Regions from separate parts of the Homo sapiens genome. Here region 2 is linked to region 1. The links are contacts of gene promoters, found by promoter capture Hi-C in blood cells and fetal thymus (Javierre and others, 2016). All regions are on one chromosome and are shown on one strand. Each heading gives the region's core, a stretch centred on a gene start or on the middle of the fragment in contact. The rest is flanking DNA. Distances are from core to core; before and after follow the strand shown.

Evidence for each region. Contacts are between HindIII fragments. The CHiCAGO score rates a contact against its expected background, and 5 or more counts as called.
Region 2: a contact is called between a fragment that was not itself captured here and the fragment with the promoter of TAF6L in region 1, in 3 of 17 cell types (total B cells, naive B cells and naive CD8 T cells). The highest score is 8.6, in total B cells.

What each region holds. Positions count from the first base shown.
Region 1 is chr11:62,769,443-62,774,476 of GRCh38, forward strand. TAF6L (TATA-box binding protein associated factor 6 like) reads left to right here and starts at 1,954. Exons shown (of 11, transcript NM_006473.4): 1 at 1,954-2,048. It also overlaps a transcript of TMEM223 not described here. RefSeq lists enhancers at 192-241, 2,404-2,543 and a silencer at 1,804-2,213. The HindIII fragment of the contact is 6,431 bases long and covers 1,605-5,034 here.
Region 2 is chr11:62,427,944-62,432,977 of GRCh38, forward strand. No RefSeq gene overlaps it. Among named protein-coding and RNA genes, the nearest start is that of SCGB1A1, 11 kb to the left of the region's middle. The HindIII fragment of the contact is 7,397 bases long and covers 1-5,034 here.

The sequences.
Region 1 (5,034 bases), core at 704-3,203:
AGGTTGAGGCAGGAGAATCATTTGAACCTGGGAGGTGGAGGTTGTAGTGAGCCAAGATTGCGCCACTGCACTCCAGCCTGGGCAACAGGGTGTTACTCCGTCTCAAAAAAAGGAAAAAAGAAAAAAAGTCTGACACCAAAGCCATCATAGTTCTTGCCAGGCATTGGGTGTGTGGAGCGAGCCACCTTTCTCCCATCTGTGGCCATGGAGGTCTCACTACTGCCTTCCCTGGTTCCTGCCTCCACTCAGATTGGGAGCAAATGAGCTCCAGACAGGTTGGATACAGGTTCACTACATCTAATAGGTCCCGGGCAGTCCCGGTCTCCCTCCCATCTTCTAGTGTCTCCAAGGTTGCTGATGGCTGTCCAGAACAGTAAACCTAAGCAAGGAGGTCAGCCAGCTGCCCAGGTCTGGCTAAGCTGACTTCAGGCTCAGTCAGACCTTAGAGGAGAGCGCCCTCTCTCTTTCCCTTAACGCACAGGTGGGCAGACACTTGAAACCACTTCTAATATGGTTCTGAATATGAGTGGAAGAGACTCAGCAGGGTCACATTCTCCTTAGGTGGGGTTGCCATGGCAACCACAGTCGCATCCATCTGGCTTTGCCAGCTCGGGTCCCAGGGGATTTTCTTTTCCAGCGGCAGCAGCATCTAACCCTGAGAGGGGGAAAGAGAAAAAATGTGTACATTCATGCTCCCTTGCAGAATGTTCCCACAGTTCACTCAGTGCAAACTACCCCATCTTGGGTGAACTTAAAGGAATTCACTGTATGCCTTGTGACATGTGAGGGAAAGAAAGTTTCTCTCTTTTTTTTTTGAGACGGAGATTCACTCTTGTTGGCCAGGTTGGAGTGCAGTGGCGCGATCTCGGCTCACCACAACCTCCGCCTCCCGGGTTCAAGCAATTCTCCTGCCTCAGCCTCCCGAGTAGCTGCGATTACAGGCATGTGCCAACACACCCGGCTAATTTTGTATTTTTAGTTGAGATGGATTTTTCTCCATGTTGATCAGGCTGGTCTTGAACTCCCGACCCCAGGTGATCCCCCGCCTCGGCCTCTCAAAATGTTGGGATTACAGGCGTGAGCCACCGCGCCCGGCCGGGAAAGAAGTTTAACCTCCAACTCTGCCAGGGACTCTCACAGACATTAATTTACAACAACCCTGTGAAGTGCGCATTATTACTCCATATTAGGTAATTTGCCCAAAGGCAGTGTCAGAATTTTAACCCAGGTCGGTCTGATTCCAAATACCATCCTTTACTCACTAAGCCCACTGCTTATCAATTAAGAACTGCCCAAGTAGCTGCTATTGCAGTGGGAGTTGGAGAAAGAGAGCTGTCAGTGTGCGTGTCCAACGGTCATGCAAGGCGAGGTAGGCCAGGGCTTGTATTTGGTTCACAGGCGTGGGGAGAATGCGAAGTAGGTGCAGAAAGAGCAGAACCCTGGAGTCCGGAGCTTGCACGGGATGTTCGGCCGGGTCAGAAGTCCCTTCTGCCTGCCGAGAACACCTACCGAGAGCCCCATCTATCCCTTCAGGAAGGGGAAGTGGCATGTGATGTTGGGGAGGTAGGCCGGGCAGGAAAACTAAGCCAGACACCAAAATCTAAAGCTTTGCTGCAGTCGCGAAAATGCGGGTGCTCAGAAACTCGCGAGCAAACAAGACAAAGAAAATCAAGACGCTGTCTTTGAGACTGTTTATTTCCTCGTTACTATTGTGGTGGTAAAAAAAATAAAATATGCTTATTAAACGTGTGTTAAAACAATACACACCTACTCGCAAACGTAGCAAGAGAGGTTGCTTTAAGAAGCGGGAATCTTCAGCGTCACGTGACCGCCGGTCTCTACAGTCTGTTCACACTGGCCAATCAAGAGCCAGGAAGCCTCCTGGAGGGCCGGAAACTTTCCAAGGCGCCCGCCGACTGGCTGTATTGGGGAGGGCGGGGCCGGGGCCCCGGGAGAGGGAATGAGTGTGAGCTCGTGAGTGGGCGCCGCCGCCACCGCCCCCGCCGCCGTCGTCTCGGTAGCAGCCTTCGCCACGCCGGGGTCTTCAGGTGAGCAGGCCTTGCTCTGGTCCAAGGACTCCCCATTCCCGACGCCGACTGCTTACTCACCAGTCTTGGAGCCCGCACCGCGAGGGCCCGCCCCCTTGGCTGACCACGTGACCCAAGTTCAGTGACCCCTGACCTCCTCCCCCCGCGCACCCCCTCCCCGATCTGGGCTGGGCTAGGCCGGGTGGGAGGATGCGCGTTGCCGAGGCCCGGCCCGCGGAGGTCAGTTCCCACGCCTCCTCTCCAGCGTGACTAGTGGCTGAGGATGCGGAGGAGAGGAGGCTGAGGAGCGGGAGACTTTGGTCACAGTCTAGATTTCGTGTACGGTCATATAATAGGGAAACTCCCTCCGTGCCTTTCGCGCTGGTGGACTAAATGCTCCCATTTTACAGATAGGGAAACTGCAGCTTCACAACGATCTATTGGCGGGTCTAGGGTCACCAAGGGGTGGGTCTCCAATCCATGTCTTTGGGGTGGGATCCAGGCCTTGTTCCCCATACAGCTGGCGGCTCCTGAATGCGGTATAGAGTAAAGATTAGGAGCAAGGGGTTGAGTCCTTGCTCCCCCTCCCTACTTACTCAGTGCTTACTTCATGATCTTGGAGAAGTCATGGAACATTTAGCCTCTGAGGTTTGATTTCCTTGCCTGTGAAATAGACGAAATACATAATAATATCTTATTATTGAGAATATAGTGAAGTAATCCATATAAAGCACTTAGCTGTGTCTCAGGCATAGTACAGTGCTATTCGTGGCCGGGCGCGGTGGCTCACGCCTGTAATCCTAGCACTTTGGGAGGCCGAGGCACCTGGATTGCCTGAGCTCAGGAGTTCGAGGCCAGCCTGGGCAACACGGTGAAACCTCGTCTCTACTAAAAATACAAAAAATTAGCTGGGCATGGCGGCGTATGCCTGTAGTCCTAGCTACTCGGGAGGCTGAGGCAGGAGAATTGCTTGAACCAGGGAGGCAGAGGTTGTAGTGAGCCGAGATCACGCCACTGTACTCCAGCCTGGGTGACAGAGCGAGACTGTGTCTCCAAAAAAAAAAAAAAAGCTCGTCGGGCCAGGTGCGGTGGCTCTCACGCCTGTAATTTCAGCACTTTGGAGGCCGAGGTGGGCGGATCACCTGAGGTCAGGAGTTCCAGACCAGCTTGGCTACCATGGCGAAACTCCATCCCTACTAAAAATACAAAAATTAGCCAGGTGTGGCGGCACAGGCCTGTAATCCCAGCTACTCGGGAAGCGGAGGTTTTAGTGAGCCGAGATCAAGCCACTGCACTCCAGCCTGGGTGACAGAGTGAGACATCAGACATCATCTCCAAAAAAAAAAAAAAAGAATAGTTCTTCTTTCTTTCTTTTAGAAGATCTTTTTTTTTTGTTTGTTTTTGTTTTTTGTTTTGTGTTTTTTTTGAGACTGAGTTTAGCTCTGTCATCCAGGCTGGAGTGCAGTGGTGCAATCTCGGCTCACTGCAGCCTCTGCCTCCTGGGTTCAAGTGATTCTCCTGCCTCAGCCTCCTGGGTAATTTTTTGTATTTTTAGTAGAGACAGGGTTTCACCGTGTTAGCCAGGATGGTCTTCATCTCCTGACCTCGTGATCCACCAGCTTCGGCCTCCCAAAGTGCTGGGATTACAGGCGTGAGCCACCATGCCTGGCCTATAATTACAAATTTTTTTTTTTTTGAGATGGAGTCTTGCTCTGTCGCCCAGGCTGGAGTGCAGTGGTGCGATCTTGGCTCACTACAACCTCCACCTCCCGGGTTCAAGCAATTCTCCTGCCTCAGCCTCCGGAGTAGCTGGGACTACAGGCGCGGACCACCATGCCTAGCTAATTTTTGTATTTTTAGTAGAGACGAGGTTTCACCATATTGTCCAGGCTGGTCTAGAACTCCTGACCTTGTGATCCACCCGCCTTGGCTTCCCAAAGTGCTGGGATTACAGATGAGCCACTGCGCCCGGCCTACAATTTTTTTTTTTTTTTTGAGACGGAGTTTTCCCCTTGTTACCCAGAATGGAGTGCACTGGTGCGATCTTGACTCACTGCAACCTCTGTCTCACGGGTTCAAGCGATTCTCCTGCCTCAGCCTTGCGAGTAGCTGGGATTACAGGCATGTGCCACCACACCTGGCTAATTTTGTATTTGTAGTAGAGATGGGGGTTTTTCTATGTTGGTCAGGCTGGTCTTGAACTCCTGACCTCAGGTGATTCGCCCGCCTTGGCCTCCGAAAGTGCTGGGATTAGAGGCGTGAGCCACTGGGTCCAGCTACAAATTCTTACGACTGGTTTGGAGGCAGAATGCAAGGACATTGGAGGATCTAGGAAGACATCCCTGAGCAAGTGACATTTGAACTGAAATCTGAAGGAGTGAGTAGCAGTTCACTAGACAAAGGGATTGGGGGTGGAGGACAGGGAGGAGAGAGTTCCAAGTGGAGGAAGCAGTGTTCAAAGGTCCTAAAATAGGTGTATTTGAGGAACTGAAAGGAGGACACAGGTGGGAATACAGAACACAAGAAAGTAGGAGATAAGAGGTAAGAGGTATTGCAGAAGTAGGCAGTACATGCAGAGCCTCCAGAGCCATTGTTCAGATTTGTTCTTTATTTCTTTTTTTTTTTGAGACGGAGTCTTGCTCTGTTGCCCAGGCTGGAGTGCAGTGGCGTGATCTCGGCTCACTGCAATCTCCGCCTCCTGGGTTCACGCCATTCTCCTGCCTCAGCCTCCCGAGTAGCTGGGACTACAGGCGCCCGCCACCAAGCCCAGCTAATTTTTTGTATTTTTAGTAGAGATGGGGTTTCACCGTGTTAACCAGGATGGTCTGGATCTCCTGACCTTGTGATCCGCCTGCCTCGGCCTCCCAAAGTGCTGGGATTACAGGCGTGAGCCACCGCGCCCGGCCCAAATTTGTTCTTTATTTCAAAGACAATGGGGAGCCATTGGGAGGAGTGCTGCACAGAAGCCACATAGCTGTCCATTGGATGTAGGGACCTGGACGTCACT
Region 2 (5,034 bases), core at 1,241-3,740, 340 kb before region 1:
TTTGCAGCTGATGCAAGCCCTGCTGTTTTCGAAAGCCAAGGGATTTGTGGGCAGTAATCACCATAGGGGTGTCTGCCACTCAAAATGGCTTCAGATAGACGATCAAGAGAAGTTTTATTGATGATGATGAGGCCACACAAACAATGCATTCTGAAACATGTAATTAGGGGATGTTCCTCCCAAGCACTTTCAGAATACACCAACAGGCACATGGGGATAATGTGAGGATGAATCATCAGTAGTTAGCCACCCAACATATTTCCATGAGCAAACTAAAATTATAAAACTATAGTACATGCAAAAAAATCTGAAAATAGACTGGGCACGGTGGCTCACGCCTATAATCTCAGCACTTTGGGAGGCCGAAGCAGGCGGATCACCTGAGGTCGGGAGTTCGAGACCAGCCTGACCAACATGGAGAAACCCTGTCTCTACTAAAAATACAAAATTAGCCAGGCATGGCGGTGGGTGCCTGAAATCCCAGCTACTCGGGAGGCTGAGGCAGGAGAATCGCTTGAACCTGGGAGGCAGAAGTTGCAGTGAGCCAAGATCGCACCATTGCACTCCAGCCTGGGCAACAAGAGCAAAACTCTGTCCCCAAAAAAAAAAAAATCTGAAAATACATTTAGCTAAGCTAGCATGGGAATTGATTGCCAGCTTGGGAATTGATAAACCGGGGGTTTGGAACTCAGATTTGTTACCCCATCAAGTGAATGGATTCCCAGCTAATCACAAGAGTCTAGTTAACTCTGAAAATACCTGCAGTTATATGCCCATAGCTGTAACTGCCCGGTGGGTTCACCTTGCTCGCTGCCTGGACGGAGCCAATTTATCAAGACAGGGGAATTGCAGTGGAGAAGGAGTAATTCACACAGAGCTGGTGTGTGGGAGACTGGGTTTTATTATTACTCCAAACAGTCTCCCTGAGCATTCGGGGATCGGGGTTTTTAAAGATAATTTGGCGGGTAAGGGCTTGGGAAGCAGGGAGTGCTGATTGGTCAGGCTGGAGATGGAATCCTAGGGGGTGGAAGTGTGGTTTTCTTGCTGTCTTCTGTTCCTGGGGAGGATGGCAGAAATGGTTGAGCCAGATTACCAGTCTGGGTTGTGTCAGCTGATCCATCGAATGCAGGGTCTGCAAACTATCTCAAGCACTGATCTTAGGTTTTACAATAGTGATGTTATCTGCAGGAGCAATCTGGGGAGGCTCAGACTCTTGGAGCCAGAGGCTGCATGACCGCTAAACTAAATTTCTAATCTTGTAGCTAATTTGTTAGTCTTGCAAAGGCAGACTGGTCCACAGGCAAGAATGGGGTTTTTTTTAGGGAAATGGCTATTATCAATTTTGTTTCAGAGTCAAAACATGAACTGAATTCCTTCCCAAAGTTAGTTCAGGCCTATGCCCAGGAATGAACAAGGACAGCTTAAAGGTTAGAAGGAAGATGGAGTCGGTTAGGTCTGATCTCTTTCACTGTCATAATTTCCTCAGTTGTAATTTTTGCAAAGGCGGTTTCACAGCCACCCTGTGTGTGTAACCACGAGGCAGATACCTACAGAGCTTCCTTTAGAGTTCCCTCTTAGGGCTGGGTGCAGTGGCTCAAGCCACTGTGGGAGGCTGAGGCAGGCGGATCACCTGAGGTCAGGAGTTCGAGACCAGCCTGGCCAACATGGCAAAACCCCATCTCTACTAGTAATACAAAAATTACCCGGGCATGATGGCGCATGCCTGTAGTCCCCGCTACAGCTGAGGCAAGAGAATCACTTGAACCCAGGAGGCAGAAGTTGCAGTGGCAGAGGTTGCAGAGGCGGAAGTTGTAGTGAGCCGAGGTTGCAGTAAGCCGAGATCACACCACTGCACTCCAGCCTGGGTGACAGAATGAGACTCCATCTCAAAAATAAAAATGAAAAAGAATTCCCTGTTAGGCCCCTGTCACAAAAGTAGGTACTAATCAGCCCTGGGACAGGATAGAGACTTGATCAGAGGCTCCCTGGGAGCTGTGGAAGGAGGAGCAGGCCTTGGGGCATCAGGAGAGGAGAAAGGGTTGCTGGGCTGGGGGATCTCCTGACCTCCTGACCTTAGGCGTCCAGTCGGTCTCTGAGTCCATCTCAACTTACATGGAATTGATCCCTTTATTTTTTTTTATTTATTTATTTTTGAGATAGGGTCTCACTCTGTCACCCAGGCTGGAGTGCAAGGTTGCAATCACTGCTCACTGCAACCTCCGCCTCCCAGGCTCAAGCAATCCTCCTCCCTCAGCCTCCTGAGTAGCTGGGATGACAGGCGCACACCACCATGCCCAGCTAATTTTTGTATTTTTTTTCATAGATACGGGTTTTCGCCATGTTGGCCAGGCTGGTCTCAAACTCCTGGACTCAAATGATCTGCCAGCCTCTGCCTCCCAAAGTGTTGGGATTACAGGCGTGAGCCACCGTGCCCAGCCCTTATCCCCTTCTCTTGACCCTATTGCCAATTCCAAGCCTTCACCATCTGTGACCTGGATCATTGCAAACAGCCTCTACATTAGTTTCTATGGCTGCTGTAACAACTTACCACAGACTTAATAACTTAAAAACACACAAATTTATGATCTTCTCGTTCTGGAGGCCAGATGTCTGAAATGCATTTCACTGGGCTAAAAACCAAGGTGTTGGCAGGCTGCATTCTTTCTGGAGTCTCCAGGGGAGAATCTGTCTCCTTGTTTTTTCCATTTTCTAAAGGCCACCCGCATTACTTGGCTCATGGCCCCTTCCCCATCTTCAAAGTCAGCAGGGCAGCCTCTGCAATTCTCTCTCCGACACTGATCTCCTCTTCTGCCTCCCACTTCCATTCATAAGGATCTCTGTGATTACACTGGGCCCATCAGATACTCCAAAACAACCTCCCCTCTCACGGTCAGCTGATGAGAAACCTTCATCCATGTGCAACCCTAATTCTCTCTTGCCAGGTAACCTAACACATGCACAGGGTCTGGGGATTAGGACGTGGAGATCCTTGAGGGGCCGTTAATCTGCCTCCTAAATAGTCTCTAAGATTTTAGTCTTACTTCCTTCCCATGATTGCCAAAAATCAAACAGGAAGTTCATGCTTTTGCTTAAAATCCTTCCCTCTTCCTGGTCCCCTGTTGGATAAAGTCCAAACCCCTCACCCATCATCAAAGGCTCCTGGAGATGGTGGCCCTGCTTCCCACTGTGGCCTCAAATCCTGCTGCTTCCCACCTACCCTTCACTTTGAGGGTGCAGCAGTGGATGATGCTCGGAAATAAAACTGCCCTCTGAGTAAGGCTTGTCGATTCATGTCGAGGCACAGACGTTCACATTTGAAACAGGCAACAAATCCATGCCATTCACACTTCCACACTTTTGCAGAAACAGTTCCCGCTAACTGAAATGCTTTCCCTTCCCAAAGTCCCTGGAAGAACCAAACTCCATCCTTCATGACTCACTTGGGACATGCTTATACTAAAAATTGTTTCATTATTTATCTAAAATGCACACTTAACGGGCATACTGTATTTCATTTGCTAAGTCTGGCCCCCTTCAGATTCTTTCACGACTTAGTCTGTGGGCTCTTTCTCCCTGTTCTCCCTACCCAGCACTTTGTGCCCTGAGGTTCAGGGGCTCTTTCTGCTGCTGAGCTTCCACGCCCCTAATCTGGGGCATGTATTTACAGTGGGATAAATCATGTATTTATCTTACTATAGCATGTTTGCTTCTAACTGTTGCCTTCTCTAGAATGTGAGTCCTATGAAGGCATGATTCACATTTTAGTTATCTTGCCACTCATTGTAGAAAAATTAGAAAACCCAAGAAAGCAAAAGGAAAATAAATCATTCGAATGTACATCTGCGTCAAGTACTTGATCAGAGCAGCAGGATTCTACTTTTGACCCTCTAGTGGAAAAATTGAAACCAAGGTGGAAGCCAAGACAGTAAATTAAGTATATTACAGGACTCGAGACCTTTTTTTTTTTTTTTTTGAGACGGAGTCTCACTTTGTTGCCATGCTGGAGTGCAGAGGTGCCATCCTGGCTCACTGCAATCTCCACCTCCCGGTTCAAGTGATTCTCCTGCCTCAGCCTCCCAAGTAGCAGGGACTACAGGCGCATGCATGCCACCATGCCCAGCTAATTTTTGTATTTTTAGTAGAGACAGGGTTTCACCATATTGGCCAGGATGGTCTCGATCTCTTGACCTCATGATCTGCCCGCCTTGGCCTCCCGACCTTTTTATTCCATCTCTCTGCTTCCAGGAGGACCATATCAATAACCAAGTGGCCCCTGAGACATGACCCTAAACCCCCAAAAAGACCTCCCATTACTCTGTGGCTGACCCATTTGAGGAATTCATATGTTCTGTGGGCAGGAAGTTCTAACCAAAATGCAAAAAAAGTTTGAAGTTCATCGTATTCCGTTGTTCCCTGCTTTTCTGTTTCTAGGTAAAGATGAGATTAGTTGGCCAGGCACGGTGGCTCACCCCTGTAATCCCAGCACTTTGGGAGACTGAGGCAGGTGGATCACCTGAGGTCAGGAGTTTGAGACCCACCTGACCAACATGGAGAAACCCCATCTCCACTAAAAATACAAAAATTAGCTGGGCGTGGTGGCGGGTGTCTGTAATCCCAGCTACTTGGGAGGCTGAGGCAGAAGAATCGCTTGAACCCAGGAGGCAGATGTTGCAGGGAGCCGAGATCACGCCATTGCACTCCAGCCTGGGCAACAAGAGCAAAACTCTGTCTCAAAAAAAAAAGAAAAAAAAAAGATGAGACTCGTTTATGAAACTGGATTCCTCTTAAACCACAAATCCATCTGAATGGTATTCATTTCATGCTTGATAAATTTCAAGACCTGATTATTTTGCAATATCAATGTTGATAAAAGTTAAATATTAACCAGATAATCGAAAGTTATCCTTTAACGTCTGCTACCATAGAATAAGAATTTCAGACTGACCCCCAGTGACAGGAAACTTTGAAAAGGCGTGTGCCTGAAGAAACGTATCGATTGGCATGTTAAAAAATACATGTATTGGCCGGGCATGG